Regions from separate parts of the Homo sapiens genome. Here region 1 is linked to region 2. The links are contacts of gene promoters, found by promoter capture Hi-C in blood cells and fetal thymus (Javierre and others, 2016). All regions are on one chromosome and are shown on one strand. Each heading gives the region's core, a stretch centred on a gene start or on the middle of the fragment in contact. The rest is flanking DNA. Distances are from core to core; before and after follow the strand shown.

Region 1 (6,639 bases), core at 1,669-4,168, 670 kb after region 2:
GGCTTTCAATAAAGTCATAGAACCTCAAAGACGATAGGAACTTTAACATAATCTATTCCAAATTTCTAACCTTTACAGGTTTTCCTTCCTAAACATCCCAGCAGTTGTTTGGATAACAACTGCTTGGATGTAACGAAAGGTAATTTGTCCTACTTTGGAAAGGTTTGAAATGTATTGCTGAAAATCTGTTTTTGTGTTAGTGTAAGCCATTGATCCTATTTCTTTCCTGTGGATGACTAGATGTCTAATTCCTCTCACAGATTCCTTTTATTCTAAATTTTCAGAATGTCTCATGCTGTACATATAAAAAATAGGGAGCTATGTTTGGGTTTTATGATTGAGCAACTGTTCTAAAGAATTTTAATTAGGCCAGGTGCAGTGGCTCATGCCTGTAATCCCAGTGCTTTGGGAGGCCAAGGCGGGCAGATCACCTGAGGTCAGGAGTTTGAGATCAGCCTGGCCAACACGGTGAAACCCCCTCTCTACTAAAAATTCAAAAATTAGCTGGGTGTGGTAGTGGGCACCTGTAATCCCAGCTACTTGGGAGGCTGAGGCGGAATGATTGCTTGAACCTGGGAGGTGGAGGTTTCAGCGAGCCGAGGTCACACTACTGCACTCCAGCGTGGGCAACAAGAGTGAAACTCCGTCTCAAAAAACAAACAAACAAACAAAAATGTTAATTAGTAGCTCATTGTCAAGGTAGAATGAGGTCTTTAGAAGCAGGCCATAGGACTATCTCTTCTTTTTTTCTATTGGTTCTTTTTTTAAATATCCATGTGTGGATCATGTGATTGTCAAGCCTAGAGATGAAACAAGGGTAAAGAAGAGAGATATATTGGGTGATTGAATCTGAATTCAATAAAAGTATTAACACAGTGTGATAACTGGTTGAAACTAATAAATTTTAACAGCAATAAGTGCAAAGTTTCATAATAAAATTTCCAAAATTGCCTGTACAAGACACAATGACTCTGCAACAAGTCAAGTGAAGAATACTCAGGGATTTTAATTGAACATAAGCTGATTATGACTAAGATGTGGCTGTAAATGTATTTAACTAGTTATATCCTTCAAAGCAAATGTAGCCATAATTCCACTGGATTTATGCTGGTCAGACCACACAGGGACCATCAGTTCCTGTTCTGGACGTCACTTGGAGAATCATGCTGAGAAACTGAAAGTCCTTCTGAAAAAGCAGCCAGGGTGGTACAGGATTGGAAACTACTAGAAAATACATTGGAAGAAACTAAGGAAGAGTAGCCACAAACAAAAATGTCTTAGGGCGGATGTGAGGAAGCATAGCTCTTTTAAAGAGAAAACAGCATTAGGGCCACTTAATGGAGTTTGGAGGGGGAGGAGGAGTGTACGGAATTCAACTGAACATAAAGAACTTCCTTAAGCATCAGAAGAGGTGAACTTGTGATGTAGAAAGTTCTCATCACTAAAAAGATCAAGGCCAGGCGCGGTGGCTCATGCCTGTAATCCCAGCACTTTGGGAGGCCGAGGCGGGTGGATCTCCTGAGGTTGTGAGTTTGAGACCATCCTGACCAACATGGAGAAACCCCATCTCTACTAAAAATACAAAATTAGCCGGGTGTAGCAGCGTATGCCTGTAATCCCAGCTACTCAGGAGGCTGAGACAGGAGAATCACTTGAACCCGGGGGACGGAGGTTGCGGTGAGCCAAGATCGCGCCATTGCACTCCAGCCTGGGCAAGAAGAGCAAAACCCCGTCTCAATAAATAAATAAATAAATAAATAAATAAATAAATAAATAAAATCAAGTCCATTCGTCCGAAATGTTCTTGGGGGAAGTCACAAATTGGAAAAGCGGTTGAATTAGGTCAACTTTAACTTCCCATCCAAATTTAACACAGTATACATGCTTCAAGGCCTAGTCCTCCAAACAGCACAGAGTTTATGGCCTGGTGGCTCCCTGCCCAGGAAGATCCGACTGGGGACATTCTGTTACTCTGTGAGATGTCAGGAGGGAGCATTTCCTGCTTCTGGTCCACTCACCGTCAGCTGTTGCTCTGTTATTCCATTTTGGAATATCAGCGTTAAGCTTCCCCTTTTGGAAAGAGCAGAAGAGGAGAAAAAGGAAGCTGAAGAAGGGCTCTTGGATTACTCTTTTACTTCAGTTCCAGGCGTTCCTAATCTGTTATGTCAATTTGAGTTTATAGTTGAATGTAAAGTTTCAGGTTTCCCTTCCAGAGATGGGGCGGGGGCACTCAAACAGCTGCTAGGACTAGGGAGTGGCTAATAGTTGGAAGACGCCAAACACAATCTATCTGCTTTATTAAAAAGGAGTAATTAAAGGAAAAGGGAGAACTGCAAAGAACCTGGGGAAGGGAAGAGGAGTCCTCTTGGGCCCCCCTCCCCTTGCGCTGACATTTGGATCACCTCACTGAGTGATGAGGTGAAGACAGGAACAGGTGCGCCTCATCCCTACCCCATTTGCCCTAAACAGGGATTATCTTGCTGAGTTTGCTGTGTCCGGGGCCAATTAATCAAGGCTAGACAAAGGATAGACAGCGAGAACTGGAAGGCATGGGGTCTGGGAGGCGAAGCCAGGAACCGCGTACGGCGCGCCTTGCAGATGACATCATTGCCTGAAAGAGCTCTGGCCCTTCTCTTCCCGGAGCTACACCCGGCAAGTCCGTGCGGGAGCGGAGTGGGTTTGCCTGGAGGGCGTGAGCCGAGGGCGGCGGTGCGCCCGAGCTCGGGGGAGGTGCGGAGGCGCGAGAGGGAGACCTGGAGAGACCAGCGAGCGCGCGAGCAAAGATATCCCGGCTGGAAGTGTCTGCGCCGCTCCCGGCTCCGCCCCCGCTCGGCGCGGCGCTGGGCCTGGGAGGGGCACGCCCATCAGGGGGTGGGGAGTGTGCACTAGGGGGAGGGTCCGGGGCGGTGGTGGTGGCGGAGAGCCGCCTGCGCATGTCAGGGCTGACAGCACACACGGCCTGGGGGCCTAGAGAAGGGTTGCTGATCACCTGCCACCCAGGGTCGGGGCCCCGCACCATCCGGGGGCGAGCTCCCGGGAAGGGGCTCCGCCTCTACACCCACCCCCCAACCTCTGACATCGCCGGCCGAACGGGAGCTGCCGCTTCCTTCCCGGCCCCGCTGCACCTCCCCAGGGAGCCGAGGGCGGGCGTGGACGGGACCGACGTGGAACGCATTCTGTAGCCCAGACGGGCGGCCCCGGCGGCTTCGGGAGTGGGGTCACGCCCAGCTGGAGAAGCAGTTAGGGCGGACGAAGCAGGAGCCGCGGGGCTGGGAGGATTCCAGTCGGAACGCAACCGATCCTGGGGAGGCGAGAGGTGAATCAACCTGGACCCTTCCACAGCCTGGCTGCTAGGCCAGCAGTGCGACTCCCTTCCGAGCTGAGCTTACCCTGGGCGCAAACGAGCGAGGCAGGGGCGCGAGTGGAAGCTGGAGTTCCGGGGTGGGCGGGGAGGCGACTGTCCGTGGTGCTGAGCGCCGGCGAGAGCGGGCGCGGAGCGGCTGATCGGCTCCCTCGAACTGGGGAGGTCCAGTGGGGTCGCTTAGGGCCCAAAGCCCCCACCCGGCTCCAAAAGCTCCCAGGGCCTCCCCAGGCACCGGTGCTCGGCCCTTCCTTCGGTCAGAAAGTCGCCCCCTGGGGGCAGTTCGTCCCAAAGGGTTTCCTCGAAAGAATCTGAGAGGGCGCAGTCCTTGACCGAGGGAATCTCTCTGTGTAGCCTTGGAAGCCGCCAGCCCCAGAAGATGCCTGCCTTCAATAGATTGTTTCCCCTGGCTTCTCTCGTGCTTATCTACTGGGGTAAGTACCAGCACCTCGCCATGCCGGATGCAGGTAACAGTAACAATGCTAACAATAATAACACATTGATGTCGTTGGTGACAGAAAAGAGCTCTGGCTGGCTTGCCTCTGTGCGTATCTGCCAGACATGGAGATGGCAGGGGTTCCATGAGAGCTGGGATTTTGAGATGGGAAAGGCGCCTCCCCACCGCCCTTCCCCGCTATTCTCCAACCTCCTTTGGTGGTTCTTCCGCCCTTCCTCCAGTTTCCTGATCATTCCAAAGTATTTTTTCCCTTTCCCTTTGCTGAAAGGAAATGCAGTCACGTTCACGAATAAAAACCTCCTGTGTGGTTACATTTTATTTCTCATCAAGGAGTCTATACTCCTGGAAAGCTTACTGGGTCTTCAAATTCGTTTCTGTATATTAAAAAAAAAAAAAAACCATAAAAGCTGGATGCATGAATTTTGAGAGTGAAAATACTTTAGTTGCTCATCATCTTCTTAATTTTAACAAGGAATGGGAAGAAAACAGCCTTCAGCCATTTACTGCTATATATTAAATAAATAGGCAACTGTGAAATGCATCTTTCTTTTTCTTCTTCTTCTTTTTTTTTTGGTTTGTTTGTTTGTTGCATGAACCTGTGGAACTAAGATGCTTTGGTGTTAGGGGAGGAGAGCTGGGTTTTTGCCTTCAAAGGTGAATAGATTCTTGCTTGTCAGCTGTGAGAAACTGAGGTGACCTTCCCCCTCCAAATAAGGGAATCTTACACTTGGAACAGTAAAGGCTGAAGAGAGTGTCAGAGACGGTCTTGGAGTGCCTGAATGTGTGTAAAGGGGATTGATCTATGTGATAATGTCTGATTGTGTGATTGAGACAATGTTTTACTGTATGTAAATATATTTCAGTGTCTGGATGTGTGCACTAGCATGTGTGTGAGCATGTTGGCATAGACATCTGAATGCATGGGTGAGTGTAGTAGTATGTGTATGGCAGGGGTGGGGGTGGTAGTTCTGGGCATGTCTGCCTTGGTGTCTATGATTAGATCCTCAGATAAAATATAGGTTCTCTTCAGCAGACAGATTGCTTTACATGATCTTAGCTACCTTTCTCCGTGCAAAAATCAATACACAGGGTAATTGGACACAATTGTACCCACCTGCCTCCCTGAAACGAGGCATGTGAGCTTATGTTCCCATGGTTGGCATGAAACTCATCCTGCCTATACGGTGGCAGACATGCTGATGGGAGCTGCCTCTTTGCTTTAGTATTACTTTTTCAAGCCTCCAGGACTAACTCTAGCTGCCAGCATTATCTGGATTTTGCATGTGACCAGAGGCAGAGCCAAGCTTCCTGTCAAAATGCCTGATGAGACGGACTAGGAAGGTTGAGGAGGGAGGTAATGTCAGCCCCAAAGGCGGACTCATCACCAGCCATCCCCAGTAGAGTAGACCAGACCTGGAGATGGAGCAGCTATAATATGTTGCCAATGATCTCACCTGCCTTGAAGATTAAGGCTGAAATTTTCTCAGGGGAGGCTAAGGCTGAGGACACGAGGCTTAGAAGATGTTAGCCTGGCCAGATAAAAAGAGCGTCGGTAAAGCTGAAGTTGTGGATAAGGGTTGGAGTGAGACTCTGCAGAGACTTTCTTCCTGAACTCTAATCTAAGATTTTGAGATCCCTGCCTGAATTCCAGTGGAGGGAGAGAACATGCTATCATCCAAGAATCTTTTAACTAGAACTTGTGCAACCTGCATTGGAGTCTCAGCTTTGCCACTAGCTTACTATATAACAACCTTAAAGTGCTATCTGGTTCCTTCTGTGTAATGTTTGGAAGTTGGCACGGGTGATATCTAACATCCTTTTCAGCTCCACAGATGAATGGTAGAGAAATCTTTGAAGAATATTGCTAGAATTGACAGAGTGCCCATCCCCTCCCCGACCCCAAAAAACTTTGGAAGAAGTGTACACAGTATGCCCATCTTTGCCCATTCTCAGTTTCTTTGCAAACTGAGTGTTGTCTCACCAAACTGAAAAGCTGTGGAAGGGAAAGAGAAGTGGTTCAGGACACTTGGTTGTTAACTGTAAGAAAAACAGCTTCCCTTCGCCAGGCGCAGTGGCTCACGCCTGTAATCCCAACAATTTGGGAGGCCGAGGCGGGTGGATCACCTGAGGTCAGGAGTTCAAGACCAGCCTGGCCAACACGGCGAAACCCCATCTCTGCTAAAAATACAAAAATTAGTCGGGCATAGTGGTGCGTGCCTATAATCCCAGCTACTAGGGGGACTGAGGCAGGAGGATTGCTTGAACCTGGGAGGTGGAGGTTGCAGTGAGCCAAGATTGTGCCACTGCACTCCAGCGTGGGCAACAGGGCGAGACTCCATCAAAAAAAAAAGAAAGAAAAACAGCCGCCCTTCACAGATACAATTTCATTTGATTTGCATGCAATTCCAATATTGAACAATAATGCTGGGTTAGATGTGTTCCCCCTTCCAAAGTTGATTTTTTAATATGATGTACAATATGAAGGGAAAGAGTCTTTCCATTTACTTTCTGCATGCATGAAAAAAAGTTTCCTTATTTCCTTTGTTAAAGCATGTAATAATTTTTATTTTTTAAAGAGATTTAAAAAATAATACAATACAATAAATAATTAATACAATAAATAATTAATACAATAAAATAATAATAATTGTATTAAAAAAATTAATACAGACGATGTCTCGCCATATTGCCCAGGCTGGTCTCTAACTCCTGGGCTCAAGTAATCCTCCTGCTTCAGCCTCCCATAATGCTAGGATTATAGGCATGAGTCACCATGCCCAGCCTTTAAAATAAATAAATAAATAAAACCCTATATTTGCCT
Region 2 (6,037 bases), core at 313-2,812:
GGAAAAGGCAGAGGCTCACGACAGAGGTGGGAACTTCAAGAAAGTGTCGGACATCATCTCAAAAACCCAGTGCAGAACTCTCAAGCTGCTGCTGGCTCACTCCCCTTCAGCAGCCAGCTCTGTCTCACCTTTCCAGAGTGTACTGTCTCTCTCTAAATAAGCTCTCTGCTATTTTTCTTCAACAAATTCTCTTTTTGGCTAATTCAGTCATTTGGTAGAATATTTTTCCAAGTAAGGCTAAAAATCTAGAATTCCTGAACTTCCCGTAACAGGGCTTGTTAGAGTTGCATTCTGGTAACTCTGATTCTCTTTCTCTTAGAGTATTCTCTAATTCCCCTAATTCAGAAACATGGCTGTCTTCTCAAGTGCTCTTGGAGATAACACCCCACCTGTCAGCTTTTAAATCGATATACATATTGAGTACCCTTAAAACACTGTAGAAGCAAATTTTTATAAATTTTTGTTTGTGATCATAAAAATATGTTTTTATGCAAAATAAAAGCAAACAACATCTCACTCTATGTATGGAGTTTTTCCTCCCTTGACATTTTTTCTCACTTTGGAAAAAAATTATGAAACCTGATGTCTTAGGTAATATACAGTGTTTCAGCTGAAAGCAACACACCCTGAATCCTTTGCTTAAACTTTAGGGGAAACGAAGTCAGGGAATAAGAAATCTCCAGTTCAGATCTCACAGCTTTGAAAGAGAAAGGTCAGTGAGAGTTTGGCCATGAATAATGGATAGCAGGAAAGGGCCAAGGAGGGAAGCGCTGAGTTGCTGATGGTTCAGGTCTTACACCTGAAAGTCAGCCTTACTTCTTTGCTTCTTTGCTGTTTCTGGAACAGGAAAGATCTAAACTAGAATCTCAGGATAGCCCTTGGCACAACATTTCTGTCAACCACATCCACACTGAGTACAAGAATCTCCTGGCCCACTCAAGTTTTCCATTCAAAGAACAGAAGTGAGCTAATGAGGGTCAGAATTGATTAGAACCATTTCCATACTTTTTTTTTTTGTACTAAGGTCTCTTTATAGACGTCTTTTATGTTTCTTATTTCCTAGTTTTAGCAAATGCTAATTATGTTGATTCATGTTGATGGGTAAGGAAACTGAAATGGACTACTTTTATATCATCAGAGCTGGATTAGAAGCCATGTTGTAACAAAGTCTGAAGGTTCTATTGGCATATGCTCAGATAAAGAAGGTAAGCAGTGTTGTTTTAATGGTAGCAATGACAAACTAATTAGATTTGGAAAGTTTGTGCTTCCTCCAGCAGTGAGGTAATTATGGGCATAAGCCTGGAAACAAAATGGGAGGACTCTTACTAAAAGAGGAGCATTCAACAGGGTTTTGGGTGAAATCAAGGTTCTTGGTTATACTCATAATATTTGCCCTTGATCTTGTAAGAGGTCCCTGAAAAGAGGCAATCATGGGACAGATGAGGCTCTCAGGAATGGAAGCAACCAACATGGGGCATGTCATTCTGCTTTGGGAATCAGAAAATAAATCTAATGTCTCTCTTTTCTCTTATTTCTTATTACACATAATACCTTAAAAGACATGGCTACTTCAAACCATTCTTCAGGGGCTGAGTTTATCCTGGCAGGCTTGACACAACGCCCAGAACTTCAACTGCCACTCTTCCTCCTGTTCCTTGGAATATATGTGGTCACAGTGGTGGGGAACCTGGGCATGATCTTCTTAATTGCTCTCAGTTCTCAACTTTACCCTCCAGTGTATTATTTTCTCAGTCATTTGTCTTTCATTGATCTCTGCTACTCCTCTGTCATTACCCCTAAGATGCTGGTGAACTTTGTTCCAGAGGAGAACATTATCTCCTTTCTGGAATGCATTACTCAACTTTATTTCTTCCTTATTTTTGTAATTGCAGAAGGCTACCTTCTGACAGCCATGGAATATGACCGTTATGTTGCTATCTGTCGCCCACTGCTTTACAATATTGTCATGTCCCACAGGGTCTGTTCCATAATGATGGCTGTGGTATACTCACTGGGTTTTCTGTGGGCCACAGTCCATACTACCCGCATGTCAGTGTTGTCATTCTGTAGGTCTCATACGGTCAGTCATTATTTTTGTGATATTCTCCCCTTATTGACTCTGTCTTGCTCCAGCACCCACATCAATGAGATTCTGCTGTTCATTATTGGAGGAGTTAATACCTTAGCAACTACACTGGCGGTCCTTATCTCTTATGCTTTCATTTTCTCTAGTATCCTTGGTATTCATTCCACTGAGGGGCAATCCAAAGCCTTTGGCACTTGTAGCTCCCATCTCTTGGCTGTGGGCATCTTTTTTGGGTCTATAACATTCATGTATTTCAAGCCCCCTTCCAGCACTACTATGGAAAAAGAGAAGGTGTCTTCTGTGTTCTACATCACAATAATCCCCATGCTGAATCCTCTAATCTATAGCCTGAGGAACAAGGATGTGAAAAATGCACTGAAGAAGATGACTAGGGGAAGGCAGTCATCCTGACAAAGAGGGTTCTCATTGGCAGCCAGAAAAAATAAACCATATAAAAAGTTGTTATAGGATCTTTGTAAGTTTCTGTCTCTCTCGGAGAGAGAAAAATTATCATCACTTAAAAATGTATATTTTATATTAGAGAATGATTAAGACATTTTTGGAGATTATGAAACAAAATTTTCTGATGGTCAATATAATCTTCGAAAATGTATTAGAGAAATGGGAGATGACAGAAGAGGAAGGGCAAATAAACATTAAAAACAATTTATTGAACATATTACTTTTGAAAGCCCAGGCTGGTCTTGAACTTCTGGCCTCAAGTAATCCTCCAAACTTGGCCTCCCAATGTGCTGGAATTAGAAGCCTGAGTCACGATCCTCAGCCTTGAAATAGTTGATTTAATGGATGACAGAGCATGATTCACAAAGACTTTTAAAGGCTGGAGTGATAGTCGCATTTAATGAGATTTTAAAAATGTACATGGGTAATATAAGATTCTATACTTCTATAAAAATGGAGAGAGTGGGAAAAACTTTATTTAACTCCAGAGAATTAAGGATTTTTGACAATATAAGTAAAAAGCATAACTACCTAGAAAGTTACTGTTACCTTGTCTGCATTAGCTACATTTTAGTATTTAGAATGAGGAACATTCTAGTTATCACTTGCACAACAGCAATTAGACTGTGTCCACTTGAAAGTAATTTACTTTGTTGATATTACTATTTAAGAGGCCACTGGCATTCTGAAATATATTCTGAGACGCATGGCCATGATGAAGCAACTTGAAATCACACATTCATTGATTTGTTTATTCTTTGGGTCATTCATTTAAGGAATACTCATTGAATGCCCACTACATACCTGTCACTATTCCTCATACTGGTGATAAAGAGATGAACAAAAGTCACAAACTCCTTGCCTTCATTAGATTTAGGTTTTAGCCTGAAAGAAAGGCAATAAACAGGGAGAAAAATACATCATAGAATCTCAGATCATAAAATGTCTTAGAAAATAAAGCCAAGAGGATAGAAATTGCTCACAGATATTAGAGGATAATTAAGTTACACATAGGAGTTACACACAGAAGGGCTGTAGGCTAGTTATTGAGGTTTTAGTAGTTCTTGCCACAGAGCACAAGTAGGCTAAAGAAGACTCTTCCAAAAATCAGAACTATCAAAAAATAATTAGCTATCTTGGGAATTTATGAACTATCCAGCAGTAGGGATTTAAGTACATATTCCAGACAGAATATTCAACCATTCTGTCTGGAATATTTCTGAGAAGAATCAAATGCTGGCTAAGAATATGACCAAACTGATCCCTTTGTTCATTGCTAACACTGAGGTTTTATGATCCATTCATTTCATCACCTTCTGATACTTTCTATTCCATCTCTTTTTATCCTTTCCACTATCTGAACATGCCTACTCCCCCTTTCCTATAATCTCTTTTATTCCCTTTCTCTTTTTCTTCCACTTTACAAGTTCCCATAAATCAGAACTAATTGTTTGGAAGTCCTAACTAGAGCAATCAGACAAGAGAAAGAAAGGGCATCCAAATTAGAAAGGAAGAAGTCAAGTTATCGTTGCTTGCAGATGACATGATCTTATGTTTAGAAAAGCCTAAAGATGCCACCAAAAAAAACTATTAGAACTGATTTGGAAAAGTTCAAATTCAATTTGAACTTTTTTTCTGGACTTTTTGAACTTTTCAGAGAAGTTCAAATTGTTCAGAAAAGTTTAAATTCATTTTGTACTACTGAACAAACTCAGTAAAGTTGCAAGATATAAAGTTGACATACAAAATCAGTAGCATTTCTACATGCCAACAGTGAGCAATCTGAAAAAGAAATTTAAGAAGTAATCCTATTTACAATACCTACAACTCAAATAAAATACCTAGAAATTAACCAAAGAAGTGAAATATCTCTACAATGAAAATTATAAAACATCGATGAAAGAAAGAGAACACACACACACACACACACACACACACACACACACACACACAAATAAAAAGTTATTCCAAGTTCACGGACTGGAAAAATCAATATTGTTAAAATGTTCATACTACCCATTGCACTCAATCTACCAATTCAGTGCAATCCCTATCAAAATATCACTGGCATTTTTTCACAGAAATGAAACAACAATCCTAAAATGTATGTGGAACCACAAAAGATATAGAATAGCCAAAGCTATCCTGAGCAGAACAAAACTAGAGGAACCACATTACCTCCCAAACTGGAGGAATCAAATTATACAACAAGCTATAGTAATCAAAAGAGCATGGTACTTGTATAAAAGCAGACACAAAGACCAATGGAACAGAATAGAGAACTCAGAAACAAATCCATACATATTCTCATTTTTGACAAAAGAGCCAACATACATTGGGGAAAGGATTGTCTGTTCAATACTTGATGCTGGAAAACTGAATATCCATACGCAAAAGAATGAAACTTGACCCCTGTCTCTCACCATATACAAAAATAAAATCAAAATGGACTAAAGACTTAAATACAAGACCTTAAACTATGAAACTACTAAAAGAAAACATTGGGGAAATTCTCAGAACATTGGAGTGGGCAAATAGTTCTTGAGGGATACTCCATAAGCACAGACAACCAAAGCAAAAATGGACAAACGGGATTACATCATATTAAAAAGCTTCTGCACAGCAAAGGAAACAATCAACAAAAGTGAAGAGATAACCCACAGAATGGAAGAAAATATTTGCCAAATATCCAACTGAAAAGGGATTAATAAGCAGAATATATAAGGAGCTTAAATGACTCTATGGGAAAAATCTAATGATCTGATTTTAAAAAGAGCAAAACATTTGAAATAAATTTCTCAAGAGAAGACATAAGAATGACAACATGTATATGAAAAGGTGCTCAACATCACCGATCATCAGAAAAATGCAAATCAAAACTACAATGAAATATCATCTCGCTCCAGTTAAAATGGCTTTTTTTTTTTTTTTTTTTTTTTTGAGATGGAATCTCTCTGTCACAGGCTGGAGTGCAGTGGCATGATCTCCCTCACTGCAACCTGCGCCTCCCGGGTTCAAGCGATCCTTCTGCCTCAGCCTCCTGAATAGCTGGGGTTACAGGTGCTTGCCACCACGCCTAATTTTTGTATTTTTAGTAGAGATGGGGTCTTACCATATTAGTCAGGCTGGTCTCAAACTCCTGACCTTAGGTGATCTGCCTGCCTTGGCCTCCCAAAGTGCTGGGATTACAGATGTGAGCCACCATGTCCAGCCTCAAACTGCATTTTGTAATATATATTACTTTATGACTTCCCTGTGAGGCAAATGAGGAATATTTTACAGATGAGAAAATTAAAGTTTGACAAGGTTAAATTGCCTTTTCCACAGATAGTAACTATAAAACCGAGATAAAAGTCTGAGTCTCCTAAATGCCAACCAGGATTATTTCTCTCTTTTCATCATAAACAATTATTGGTACGAAATTGAAAACATTTTTACCATGAATTCTGAATCAAAGAATAGTTGAACTACAAAAAAAATCCTTCTGCT

The links. The method cuts DNA at HindIII sites, captures the fragments that hold promoters and counts their contacts. A CHiCAGO score of 5 or more calls a contact.
Region 1: the fragment with the promoter of SCN3B here is called in contact with the fragment with the promoter of OR8D2 in region 2 in 2 of 17 cell types (erythroblasts and total B cells); the score reaches 9.0 in erythroblasts.

The regions. Positions count from the first base shown.
Region 1 is chr11:123,650,903-123,657,541 of GRCh38, reverse strand. SCN3B (sodium voltage-gated channel beta subunit 3) reads left to right here and starts at 2,918. Exons shown (of 7, transcript NM_001040151.2): 1 at 2,918-3,316; 2 at 3,716-3,795. The coding sequence starts at 3,741. LOC105369543 (a long non-coding RNA gene) reads right to left here and starts at 3,857. Exons shown (of 3, transcript XR_948124.4): 1 at 3,390-3,857. RefSeq lists silencers at 2,675-2,904, 3,465-3,534. The HindIII fragment of the contact is 2,104 bases long and covers 2,067-4,170 here.
Region 2 is chr11:124,315,722-124,321,758 of GRCh38, reverse strand. It overlaps OR8D2 (olfactory receptor family 8 subfamily D member 2), which reads left to right and starts at 1,562. Exons shown (of 1, transcript NM_001002918.1): 1 at 1,562-2,497. The coding sequence starts at 1,562. The coding sequence ends at 2,497. It overlaps LOC112268069 (a long non-coding RNA gene), which reads right to left and starts at 5,699. Exons shown (of 3, transcript XR_002957213.2): 1 at 5,661-5,699; 2 at 3,353-3,433. The HindIII fragment of the contact is 6,670 bases long and covers 1-5,162 here.